Regions from separate parts of the Homo sapiens genome. Here all the other regions are linked to region 1. Evidence: promoter capture Hi-C in 16 types of primary human blood cells and fetal thymus (Javierre and others, 2016). All regions are on one chromosome and are shown on one strand. Each heading gives the region's core, a stretch centred on a gene start or on the middle of the fragment in contact. The rest is flanking DNA. Distances are from core to core; before and after follow the strand shown. Region 1 holds the start of DRGX (dorsal root ganglia homeobox). Region 2 holds the start of FAM170B (family with sequence similarity 170 member B). Region 3 overlaps VSTM4 (V-set and transmembrane domain containing 4).

Region 1 (4,406 bases), core at 297-2,796:
CCCACAGTGTGGCATTGGCTCACCTGATGGCTACTAATTGGCCCCCTGATGTGAAGACCCCATCCTTGGATCCCTCGGGTCCTGAGCAGGGGCATGCTGAGGTCCCAACTGTCCCCTTCTCACCAACCCACGCCCCCACTAACAACTGGGTGCAGAAGCCAGACTGGGGATCCTGAGGGGAAATTTCTTCTCAGGCCTGGAGACACTCAAAGATGGAAATTCTGGCCTGGGGAGTGGGGAGTGGTCGACATTTAGGGTTAGTGAGTCACAGAGAAGGAGCCATGCTAGGTCAGTCCGGGCAGGTGGTGGGCAGGGCCACCTGGTTCCAGGGACGGCCAGGAGGCCGGGAAGGGAATTGAGCTGCCCAGAATCCAGGGCGGAAGAGGCCCCTGCAGTGTTCTCGCCAGCGGCCCCAGTGAGAGCAGCCCAGCGACGGGCCCTTGTAGGCTCGTGCAGCTCGTGATCTGGGCCAGGACGCGGCGGGTCCACTCGCCTTTGCTTTCTGGGATGTTTGCAGAAGCACCGTGAAAGATTGATGCGGCCCCCTGGGTTGCGGAGCCCCAATTAGAGGCGTGACACCAGCATCTGTGCTGGGAGGATTCGGCCGGTCCCCGCGGCACGCCTAGCCCGGGGCGTCCTGGCCCAGGCGGGGAGGGAGCTGGGAGGCAGGTGGCGACGGGGCGGGGAGCTGGAGCGGGCCTGGAGTGGGGTGTAGGGAGGGGTCCAGGGAGGCCCCTACTCACCGGCAGGCGGCTGCGCCCCCCGCAGGGCGGGGACCCAGCCACCCACCAGCCCTGCTGCCGCTCCGGCCCTTTCTGGCCGGCTCTGGCTTCATGGAGACCCTGGGGCGCAGCGCTTACTTACCCTCTAGCTGTGGCGGGCAGTGGAAATAAAACATCGCCGGCTGTCAGATCGGCTGGACGGCCGAGACCTGGGAGGGTGGCAGCAGAACGGACCCGCGCGCGTTGCTCCTGCCTGGCTGCAAAGCAAACAGCGATAGAGCTTCAAGTCTCCCTCTGCCAGCGCTCCCGCCCAGCCCTAGGGCGCACCCGGCGCTCCCCTCCTGGAAAGTCCCTCCCAACGCCCTCATCTCACTGCGGGGGACAGGAGGGAAGGCGGCAGCCCCGTCGCAAGCAGCAACCCCACAGGGCAGTCCTTCGGGTGTGTCCACCTCCCGGACGGCCGTGCCCTCACCCTGGCCCCAGCACCAAACCCCGCAGCGTAGTTTCTGGCTCTCTGGGGTCCCAGCCAGAAGCCCTGCACCCGGGCCACCGCAGCCAGGTCCGGCTAGCGCGCAAGGCCATCTGCGAGCTGCAGCTCAGGCCAGGAAGGCAGCCGAGCCCCAAGGCCCGGCGCTCGGGGCCCGGCGAGTGGGTCAGGAGCCGAGCATACCTCGGCGGGCGGCGGTCGAGGAGGTCGGAGCGTGACCGCCTCCGATCCGCAAGCCCTGCTCGGCTGGCGGCGGGCGGGGCTCGGCGCGGCTGGCGCCCGCAGGACCAAAGAAGTGACTCGGGAAGTGGCCAGATGTCTTGCTGTCTGTCTGCAGCGCGCGCCGCCGCTCAGCACTCGCCTTTATAATCTCACGCATAATTGGCCTTAATCTGATTATTTCCAGCGCTGTCTACAGCGAGTAACTTGGATAGGTCTATTGGGCCTTACAAATGGCCCACGTGGTGTTAAAAAAAAAATCCGTCATTTCTCAGCAAACATCAGGAATGCTTTTTCCTCTTTTAAAAGAGAACGATACAACCACCACCACCATCACCCCCAAAAACATACATTTTCCGAAAACACACTAGGCCCCACCCCCCACCTCATGTCCCCTCAGAGGCAAACCTTTCTCCGAGAGAGCCTGGTTTGGGCTGCCCTTATCAAAGGCCTGGTGACTCCCGGGCTGCAAATTGGCAAAGCGCTGCTAATTGTCGCCGCCGGATGGGTTTTGGGGGGACTCTTTGCACACGGCTTCCCTTTCCAAACGATCGTACAAAAGGAAAGTTTGATTTTGTTCTCAGCAAGGGGTCCCTGAATTTATGTTCGCTTCTCGATGCAAATGATATGCGGTGGGACCCTTTGCAATTACTTTTAAAATGCATCCGAGGCAGACACTCAACGGAGAGAGACCGCCCTTCTCTCTGCCTGGGTGAAAATTAAACTCTAAAGTACCGGGCTGAAATTTTCAAGTCAGGGGCGCGGGATTGGATCAAATCACATAAACTGCAAAAAAAGCAAGTCTAATGGCGCATAATTGGTTCTGTAATAGCATTACACCAGGATAATAGCCCGTTACGGCCCCCTGCACTATTAAGTGCTTCCCTGGCGGAAAGCCTTTATGATATTAAAGGGGGAATATAATGATATTTTGGTTATTAAATGCGTGTAATTAATTTATGCACCACTGAAAATAAAGTTGGTATTATGACCCACTCAAGATGCATCAGAAGATGCAAGTCAGACAACTGTTGATAAGTTCTGGTGTCTGTGCTCCGTCTAGACTGCTGATTTTATTTTGGGACGATGGCTTCTTGGACAGACTACATAAATTGAATATTTTATAAACATTCTAATGCTGCGTTAGGGAGCCTTGGCGAGGTGGTGGGTCGGGTCCCTGCACGGCCCGGGATACAGCCTTGATCTTAAAGACGCAGCGCTTTGGAAACAAAAGGCCTGGCAGGCCCGCCGCTGGACACCAGCGCTGGGCAAGGAGCATCGAGCTGCAGGACAGAGCGCTGGGTCCCGGCCGCCGTTGACGCCCCTCCGAAAACAGCCGGGAGGAAGACCAGTCCCGCTCCGGTCGAGGCAAGTCAGGATCTATTCCAGTGAAGCGGCCCTTCCTGGGCTCAGTCGCTCCAGAGCAGAGTCTGCTCTGCCTCGGGGAAAGAATCACAGGAAACTTCCGCTCGTTTCAGAGCGGAGAGAGCTCGGGGCGCCATTTCCGCCAGGGCCACCGACTCCGAGAGTCCAGGCAGCCGGCCCGGGAGGAGCGGCTAGCAGGTCCCGAAGGCGGGTGAGGTGGCAGGCAGGGGCCGGCAGGGCAGCCGAGGGCCTTTCCTACGTCATGCCAAGAGGGCTGGGAGCCCCTAGAGCTGATCCTCCCTTAGCCCAGGTCAAGAGACTGGCTCGCGCGCGCTGTCTCTCTCCCTGTCTCCCTCAGAGGGCCCCTGCTCTCTGGAGCTCTTGACAAGAGCCCGAGGCTCCTCTTGCCGCCTAGGTCTGCCGAAAGTCCCCTCGGGTTCCCTCCTGCCCTAGGCAGCAGTTCCCTGCCTGTGCGCTTTGGGAACCCGGTGGCCGTGAAGTGAGGTGCGGACAGCTTCTGGGCCGCCTCGGCCAAGATGCTCAGGCGCACCTGGGGGTGTGTGCGGGAACCCTCAGCGGCAGCAGCCCAGCCCGGGGTGCAGTGTTGGCCCCAGAAACCAATGAGGTCCAAACGCCAGTCTCAGTTCCCCATCCCTGACATCGACCGAGGCAAGTTCCTATTAAGGCCCAGAGATGACCCCGGGACGAGACAGGCTCATCCGGCGCGGATGAGACAGGCTCAGACCTGCGCGGTCTGAGGACGGCGCGCTCGCCGAGCAACCCGGCAGGTCAGAACCCTGGACAGCGGCGCCGGTTTCCGCACCCCCACCCACCCCCGGCTGCTGCGGAGAAAGAAGCCGTACCGGGGGCCCAGCCGGGGCCCCTCGCTGCTCAGGGGTGGGATCCGCCCGGCCGGACCCCAGGCGTCCGGGGACCGACCCCAATCCTCTCCCAGTCCAAACCTGCGAAAGTTACTCCGGACATGCGCTCAGCGCTGGCAACAGAGACAAAACTCCCTTCTCCGCAGTACCACGCGCCGCTCCTACCCGGCCGCTGCAGCCGGAAACCATCTCGCGGCCCCCGAGGAGAGTCCGGCCGCCTCACTGACTAGATAACCAGCCGAGCTCCCTCAACACACCCACCTCGCGGGGGCTCTAAGCCGGCTTGGGACCCTCGGCCTCGCCTCGCCCGGCGCTCCTCTCCCGGAGCCGCTAGGCTGGGCTCCTTCCCGTTGGCAAAACAGCGAGTAAACAAACAACCAAACAACCTTAGAAACGAAAGGCTGCACCAAACTTTGATGACGCCAGCCCCCTTTTTTTCCGAATGTCTCGACACCCGGGAGAAGGTGACTAATAGGTGTTCGCTACGGTCCCCCTCCCCCTAAAAAAGGGCGTTAGTAACGAAAAGGTTATTTTTCCTTAATTTTTGTGCGGTAAAATGTATTTTCCAATTAACCAAATTCGCCGATCTGTCTCGCTTGGACACTCTGATAATTTACAACCTAAAAGTGTACTTTCTTTATCTAAAGACCAAGGTGACTGCTTTTAATTTTCTCTAACCTCTTTACACTTGATGTTCACCAGACTCATAATGTTAATTGGCTTCATATACGG
Region 2 (4,423 bases), core at 1,777-4,276, 260 kb before region 1:
GCAGGTCTATGTCCTCGGGCTCGGGGCTGCAGTTGCTCTTGCAGGCTTCCAGGTCCCAGCGCATATCGGTGTTGGAAGCCATTTCGAAGGAGGAGCCGTTCCACCTCTGCCTCTTGATGAACTGGGCTTCATGGATGCGGGGCTTCCTGGTGACCGGCTCGAAGCCGGCCTCCGTCTCCCAGGCCACAGCCACACCCCGCACAGTCTGCACGTGCGTGTAGAAGGCACACACACTCTGCGGAGCAGCATTGTCCTCATCGCACATGCAGGAGCAGCACGACTGGTACTGGGAGTAGGACTGGTACTCGGAGGACTCTGAGGATGGGGAGCTGCTCCAGTCCCGCATCCCCCGGTCCCTGGCAGCGAAGTAGAGGCCCTCCTCCCGGGGAATGGCAGGCCCCGGCCGTGGGGACGACCCTTCTCTCTGTATAGTCCCTGAGAAGCAGAAGGACATTGTCATCAGTGCCCTTTAAGGGATCAATGCCACATCTACCTTCAGGAGCCGCAGACTCTGAAAGGGTACAGGCTCTGGGAGCTCTTGAGCAAACACCGCCCCCTCTGCCCATTTCCTGAAAAAATGAAGATGGTGATAATGCCTGCTTCATAGGGTGTGGTAATGATTGAATAATGTATGAATGCAATCACCAAATCCTTGACTCAACTGAGAAAGACCATTAAATGGTGAATAACAGAGTTATATACACATTAGGGATATGATGATAAGGATCAAATAATGTATTAGAGTAATCACCAAGCAAAAGACCATCAACTGGGGAATAGGTAAGCTGACTGAGGTGTATCCATATGATGCAACCTGTTAAATCCATGAACCACTGAGACGTGCAACAATACGGATGAATCCTGAATGCATTATGCTAAATAAAAGAAGCCAATTAAAAAGGCCATGTAGTCATAAGAGAATGTGAACAAAAAAAAAAAAGAGTCCATGTCGTATATGATTTTATTCAGATGACATTCTAGAAAAGGCAAATTTTTAGCAACAGAGAACAGCTCAGTGGTTGCCCAGAGCTGGGGACGGGGTGAGAGGAGACTGGTCATAATAAGGCACAAGGGGACTTTTAGGGGTTTTGAAAAATCTTCTTTATCATGACTGTGTTGGTGGTTCCACAAATGTACATGTGTCAAACTTCTTTAAATTGTGCATTTAAAATTGCTGAAGTCTGTGTGCATAAAAGACACCTCAGTAAAGCCCATTTAAAAAACAACACATGCAAAGTGCCTTGGCCAAGCCACCCAGACCCACCATCCTCTTCAACATTTGTGACCTGTCTTCACCTTCCCGAGGGGGCATCTCACTATCTCCTTCAACACTTACTGTGTCCCTCTTGCCATGGAAGTGCTTGCCAAGTTTAATATTCAAAACAACCCTAAGAAATTATATTGTTAGGATTCCCATTCAACAGAGTAGGAAAGAGAGGCATGGAGTTTGAATGAGTGGTGGAGCCATTGGGCCCCCAGAGCTGGTGTGACACTTAGGTGCTGCCCACAGACACGTCCCCGCGGTCTTCAAATTGATGTTCTAGATTAACTTTCATCATTTTGTTATAAAGGAATTTTTTATTTCACTGCTGAAATCACAGGATGGACGTGTTGTTTTCTCAAATACACATTAAAATAAATACATAATTATAAACATTTTACATTTTCATTCTCATATCCCCTGAAAACACCTTATATACTCATAACAGCCTCAGTCACACCAAGTGTCCCATAAATATCAATTTCCTTTCCCTCCACATCTATGTTTATGGTCAACACAACCATTTGGTAACAGTATCAGGAGGCAACCTGGCACTGTCCCTTCCCATCAGGGCTTCCTTCCCAGGGAGCACAGCTGGCTGACCTTCCAGGCCTTTCTTTTCACCTACCTGGCCAGAACACTTCCACACTCTCCTCAGTGGACTCAGGGCTGGTCAAGCTGAGGGTGGTCCCATCGGTGGGTGACTGTTCTCCCCTGTGATCTGTGAAGTAGCATTTCATGATTTGAAATGAGTGCCCAGGGTGTCGGTGCTCCAGCTGTTCAGTGAGAGTTGGCTGGGGCTGTACTGAAGGCCTCCAGCTGGCCCCAGCCAGAGTGGACACTGAGCTCCCCATGGTCGCTAAGATCCTAGCTCTACTGTGTGACCTCATCGATGGCACTGGTCTGTTCTGTGACCCATGGCGAGGGCAGAGGCTGAGGCTGGATACCAGGAGAGGCTTCCCAACATGTTCTCATTTCCCCATGGGAACTCCTTTTCTGTCTTGTGTATTATCATGGACACACAGAAACACAAAACACACATACTCTTAACTCCTTAGACACACATAAAAACACAAACACATAAACACAGAGACACTTGTATACACTTAAGCATGCATGGAACCGCTGTCTTAGTCCATCTGTGTGGCTTACAAAGGGATACCTGAGGTTGGGTAATTTATAAAAGAAAGAAGTGTATTGGGCTCATGTTTCTGCAGCCTGTACACAAAGCATAGTGCCAGCATCTGCTTCTGGTGAGGGCCTTAGGAAGCTTCCATTCTCAGCAAATGGGGAAGGGGAGCAGGTGTGTTTAGATCACATGGGTAAGAGAGGAAGGAAGAAAGAGTGGAGGAAGTGACAGGCTCTTTTCAACACTCAGTTCTCACAGAACTAAGAGTGAGAACTCTTTACCACGAGGGTGGCACTGAGCCCTTCATGAGGGATTTGTCCCCGTCACCCAAACACCTCCCTCTACGCCCACCTCTCACATTGGATATCAAATTTCAACATGAGATTTGAAGGGGACACATGTCCATACTATGTCACTCACACACAAAGAAACGCATACATGATCACTCAGACACACATATACGCTGGAACACATATGGCACACACAGTAACATAAACATATGTACGTGTGTTCACATAGACACATAACATGCTCACACATACAAATTCACACACATATTTACTTAACCACACACACATACATGCACACAAATTCATGCCAGATTAATTAACCATACATAGGCTCACATACATACAGTCAGCAGCCAACATAAAATGACCCTGCTTCCCAGTGTGGAAAATCTCTCCTTCTCTCCCCCATCTTACGTCCCCACGCTGACCCTGTTTAGCTCCTCAACCCTCCACAACCCCACCCCACCCCTCCCCTCCCCTCTCCTCTACTCACTCCCTTGCTCAGTTCCTGTGACTCCAGACACTTCACTGCTCCCGGACATGCCCGGCATCCTCCCCTCACGGGCTCTGGGCTCTCGCACTTGCTCTTCCTTGTGCCTGTTCCAGGCTTTCCCCTAGGTTCCTGTGTGGCTCTCTCTCCTTCCGGTCTCCTCTGAAACATCACCTGGTCAGAGGAGCCTGCCTGGCACCCCCAGGAAAAGAGCTTTCTTTGGCCCTACAACTCTCTGTCACCTTACCCTGCTTTATTTTTCCATGATAGCATTTACCACCCTAGGCTGTATATAATGTCTGTGTGTGTATCTCATGGGTTTACCTGTATCTGTCTTCTCCTCCTTAGATGTAAGCTTAGGCAGGTAGGGACTTCCTTCGTTCCATCCACCTCATTATATCTCTAGTGTCTAGATCAATGTTTTACATATTAACAAGCACTCAGGAAATAATGAGTAAATAGCTGATGAACACGTTGGGCTGAAAAAGGCGTTACTCCCTCTGGGAGCTGCCTCCTCTGTGCTCCCTGGATCTCTGCAGTTCCAGGGTGGTTGGTTCTCTCCCACTAGGACTCTGGGAGTTGCCTCTTCCTTCTCCATTTGCACAAACCACGCTTCAGCCTCAATCAGCCTGATAAAATGTTCACCTGCCATCTCTCTGCTCTGCAACACGCTGGCACTTCACTCATTTCCTCCAACAAGCTTCTTACCACTTCCCTCTGTGGCTAATCTCTTCCCACCCTTGGTCAGTCTCATCAACTCTATTCCTTTGAATCCCAAATACTAAACAGTTCAGATAGGTGATGGATTGAAAATAATCCCAATATTCCACAAGCAACATCAACATCCCCCACACACCCAGCACCGAGGAATACCCTCCTCTCTAGAATGTGAGGCCACTGTGTGGAGGAAGACACCACGGTGCTCTACTGAGCCATGAAAGTCACGCCTGACCTAAACAGAAGACTACGTCCCCTGGCTAAAAGAGGAAATAGTGTAAGTGCACCCTTTTTTAACAAATAAATACAAAGACTTGCCTTACAAAAACAAGAGGGGGCAGCCAGCACAGAAAATAAGTAGGTCATTGGGGGATGGAAGGCAGTTCAGAGAGAGATGACATCATGGAGAATTGTTAAGCGGCAAAGTAAACAGCAAGTCTGGGAGGAAAGGAGACTCAGCCAACAAATTATGCTGAAAAATTATATTCGCTATTTTTTTGAATCAACTTTGGTCTCACTTCATGTAAAACAATTAA
Region 3 (4,339 bases), core at 247-2,746, 320 kb before region 1:
GTGATCCCCCCACCTCCACCTCCCAAAGTGCTGGGATTACAGGCATGAGCCACTGTGCCTGGCCAGAAATGGATATTAATCTACAATAATCTCAAAATAAAAAGTTGTCTAAGTTGAACAGTTAAACCATGTTCATGTACATACATCTCTTTTAGAGATAAGGTCTCACTCCGTCACCCAGGCTGGAGTGCAGTGATAAAATCACAGCTCACTGCAGCCTTGAACTCCTGGGCTCAGGAGACCTTTCCGCCTCAGCCTCCTGAGTAGCTAAAATTACAGGCATGAGACTCAGTGCCCAGCTACATATACTTACATTTCTTAAACTCTAATAATCAACGTTATCATTAGTCTGATCAATACAATGCCAAGCTGCTCAGAAAGTGAAAAGGGAAGCCAAAAGCATTATTCTAACCATCTTTGAAGAAAAATGCCACAGGCATTTATTTGAACTTAGCAAAAATGTTTCTCTGTTGACTTAACTTTCTACAACCAACAGACATTTACTATCAGCCATGGTCAGTACTTTCCTGAGTCCAAGAAAGATAAAAATGCACACACAAAGGCTTTCTCTTCAAGAAATAGAGGACCACTTAGTAAGTGTAACAATAAGAACGTGTGTCCAATACCAGGAACACTCAGAGACACCCAGCCCAGCCTGGGGAGGCTGAGAGAAGCTTCCAAGAGGGCTAGAGTTCTGCACCGAGTTGTATTTAAAATAACAAAAAATACAAAAATGTATAGAAAAAAAAGCCATCGGCCATCCTGTCACCCTGAGATAACTACTATTAATAAATATTTGGTATACTTTATGATGAATATGCATATATTTTTAAATTGAGATCATATACTTTCACATCTTTTTTCAATTTCTCTCATTTTCTCAATAAATTCTTTTCAAAAATGATTCAGAATCATTTTGAAAAATATGATAAAAGTTTATCATATTAATATATCAGCAATGATTTAACAATCTCTTACTATTGGCTACTCAAAGTGTTTCTACCTGTTCCCCATCATAAATAATTCTGTGGTGAGCATTCATGAACTTAAACCTTAGTACAACTTTCACAATATGTTCTCAAGATTAAGTTCCTAGAAGTGGAATAGCTGAGTCAACAGGAAAAGAACATTTGTAAAGCCCTTGTGGCGTGGAGAAGCAGTTAGTTAAGTGCTTAAGCTGAAAAAGCAAGCCTACTGGGAGTAGCAGGTGGCTGGCTCCCAGGGAGAGCCTGGAGAAGCAGGTCAGGCTTATGGTTAATGAGAAGAAAGGGGGCATGAAATGGAATCAGACATTCAGGTTCCTTTTGACTCTCCCCTCCCTGGCCTAGGCCCCAGGGAAGCCCAGCAGAACCTCTGCCCCTGGAGTCTATGAGATCTTCCTGTGTTCTTAAGGCAGTCAGCATTTTTGCCTAAGCTAGTTTGAATAGATTTCTGCTCTTGGCAATTTAGATGTCTGGACTGAAAATAAAATAAGTAGAAAGTGCCTTAGGGCAAGGTAGCAGGTGAAGGGTGCATCTGCACTAACATTTAAGGAGAGAGGGGCAGGTGTGTGGAAGGGAGTCTCCTACAAAGGATCAGAGCTAGTCATGGATGCAGAGGAGGGCTGGGGCGAGAGTTCTGGAAGCCCAGAAGAAAGCACTGTAAGAAGGATGCCTTAATAGCATCAACTGCTGGAAAACATCCACTCTGTTTTGCTCCTAGGAAGCTACTGGGAAAGTCTTGGAGGAAAGCCCTGTCAGTAGGCTGGTGGGGGCAGAGTCAGGTTAGAGAGGTCCAGAAGCTGATGGAATGTGAGGAGCTTGAGAAAGTTCTCACATAGCTAAAAATCAAAACTGCCTTTCTAGTAAATGCCTGTGTCTCTGATGTGTGGGCTCTGTAGATTAACAGGGTGGAGAACTCTGTGAGGGGTCAGAATTAGGAGAGAGGCTGCAGCATCCATTTAAACAGTGTGAAACTCAGCAACAGGACTCTTGGATTCTGGACAAGACACTTCATGACGAACTCAGGGACAGAGCAAAGTTCACAGACCAGGATTTGTGGCAGGATCCCAGGGCACAGGATGGCCACAACCCAGCAAACCCACGGCCAGTCCTGCCTTTCCACATTGGTCAGCAAACTACTCCAGAACAGGATGGCAGAGCCCTTGCTGGCAGGAGAAGATGGTGAACAACACAGTCAGGCTGCCAGGCCGACAGAACCTCAGGCAGGTGAACACAGCACCTGCCTGGAAGGGACTATGCAAATGTGGTCCCCAGACCAAAAGGCAGAGAAACTTGCCTTTAGTCTTATTCATGGAGTGGAGAGAAAAATTGTCTTACAAAAGCTTCCATGCCCATGGAGCACAGCAGCTGATCCACAAGCTCACCTCTTCATCTGAGCTCTTTCCTTCGCTTCAGAACAGCAGGAACCCAGGAGGGACAAGGTTGCAGGTAAGAACCGCAGTAGGCATCTCTCCCCAAGTGTCCCTAGCAGCATGCTGCAGACATTTGGGGCACACTCTGCCCAGGCAGGAGGTCAGGGGCTTCAAAAGGCCCAAGCTACAGTTTCAGTTCACAGCTTCCTCAACATGGCTCAAAGGGGGCTCCCCACAGGCAGCCAGGGCTACAGAATCAGAAAACATCTGGCGACTCTGGAAGGCTCAGCTGGCCGCCAAACACACAGGCCTCCAGTTATGGACACCAGCCAGCGGGCACCTCCTGCCTGCGTGTGGCTCCCCACACACACAAGACCGGTCATGGCCACTCTCTGTTTTGTTCTTGAAGCTACAGATCTGTAAAAAGTGCTGCCTTGCAGGAGAAGAAAAGCTCAGAAAGACCACCTGAGTTCCCCTTGATTGAGCAGCAACCAGTATGCCTATGTTCCGAATTTTTTTCCCTTCTGTTACAAGCATTCCTTTTGTTGCATAAAGATAACCACCCTGCTGTGTCCACTCAAAACATGAAAACCCCCCTCCCTGGCTGTTCTCTGCAAACAACAGTTAAACTCTGAGCCATTGAAGCCAGGGTCACAAATTCCTACGACTGCAGAGTCACCTTCCTGTCATGTCAGCTAATGCAAAGCCCTGCCGCACTCAGTTCCAGGGCACTGCTCTCAGGCTGGAATGCCCGCCCAGTGGTGCCAGATCTTCCAATTCATCCTTTACCTTTTTATGTAAAAATCTCTCTATAAAATGTTGGCTCAAAAGTTTTAAAACTCAGACTAGGCCAAATAATGCTGGTTGAAAGGTTGAAGCCAGACCTTTCAACAAAGGCTTGAGTTTAACAAAATATCTGCAATTAATCAAATCTGGAGTTCACTTTTAAAATACCACATATGGTCAGGCATGGTGGCTCATGCCTGTAATCCTAACACTGTGGGAGGCCGAGGCAGACCAATCACCTGAGGTCGGGAGTTCGAAACCAGCCTTGTCAACATGGTGAAACAAATTAGTACAAATTTTTGTACTAAAAATACAAAAATTAGCCAGGTGTGGTGGCACATGCCTGTAATCCCAGCTACTTGGGAGGCTGAGGCAGGAGAACTGCTTGAACCCAGGAGGCGGAGGTTGCAATGAGCCAAAATCATGCCATTGCACTCCATCCTGGACAACAAGAGCAAAACTCCATCAAAAACAAAAGGAAAAGAAAAAAAAACACATATAGCTGCACACCCACAATAATTCTAAAAATCATGTTACATTCCCTTTCTCTTAAATCATTTACAGTTTTGTCTTTTGCCATTGAACTTCCAAAGGCATCACTGCCATTTTTAGACTCAACTGCAAGCTGCCATGTAGAAAATGCCCAGGCCTCCCTGAAGCAGATGGCAGGGCTGGCAGGCTGGAGCAGCTGCCCATGCAGAGACAGGCCAAGACTGGGGTGCATAATGTCAGCATGCCAGCTCCCGCCCTCCCAAACAGCCCCACCAAGCCAGGGCCAGGCAGATGGCACCTGTTGCCCAGCAACCCTGATCCCAGCAGGGGTATATTCAGTGCTCCTTTGAAAAAGAGTGACCCCAGTGCCCCTCAGCAGAGTCCAGGAACCCCGCTCTCCCCTGCTTTCTGAATCAAGAAAGTAAGCTTCAGTCTTGTACATTTCCAGGGCAAATGGAAAAGTCAGGAGATAGCAGTTTGAGACATAAGGCTGTGTATTTCTATTTTTTAATCCAGCCTGTAATACCATCTTGCTCAGGGTGAAATACCTGAGTGATAGCCCCAAAGGATTTTAACTCACTCCAGCATCTCACAAAGAGGCCTGACAATCAATGCCTCTTTTGTGCAGTGGGCTCACAGCCAGGATGAACTAAGCCCCAGGAGGATGGATATCCATCCACAACCCCTACTGTAGCTCTCTCGTCCAGG

Evidence for each region. Contacts are between HindIII fragments. The CHiCAGO score rates a contact against its expected background, and 5 or more counts as called.
Region 2: a fragment that was not itself captured here is called in contact with the fragment with the promoter of DRGX in region 1 in 1 of 17 cell types (M1 macrophages); the score reaches 5.3 in M1 macrophages.
Region 3: a contact is called between a fragment that was not itself captured here and the fragment with the promoter of DRGX in region 1, in 1 of 17 cell types (M0 macrophages). The highest score is 5.0, in M0 macrophages.

What each region holds. Positions count from the first base shown.
Region 1 is chr10:49,394,543-49,398,948 of GRCh38, forward strand. It overlaps DRGX (dorsal root ganglia homeobox), which reads right to left and starts at 1,547. Exons shown (of 7, transcript NM_001276451.2): 1 at 1,393-1,547; 2 at 865-979. The coding sequence starts at 898. RefSeq lists a silencer at 3,562-3,721. The HindIII fragment of the contact is 25,200 bases long and covers 1-4,406 here.
Region 2 is chr10:49,131,918-49,136,340 of GRCh38, forward strand. It overlaps FAM170B (family with sequence similarity 170 member B), which reads right to left and starts at 2,104. Exons shown (of 2, transcript NM_001164484.2): 1 at 1,890-2,104; 2 at 1-435. The coding sequence starts at 2,001. FAM170B-AS1 (FAM170B antisense RNA 1) reads left to right here. Exons shown (of 6, transcript NR_038973.1): 2 at 3,739-4,164. The HindIII fragment of the contact is 994 bases long and covers 2,530-3,523 here.
Region 3 is chr10:49,079,068-49,083,406 of GRCh38, forward strand. The region is part of intron 3 of VSTM4 (V-set and transmembrane domain containing 4); the gene reads right to left. Among named protein-coding and RNA genes, the nearest start is that of VSTM4, 34 kb to the right of the region's middle. The HindIII fragment of the contact is 1,649 bases long and covers 673-2,321 here.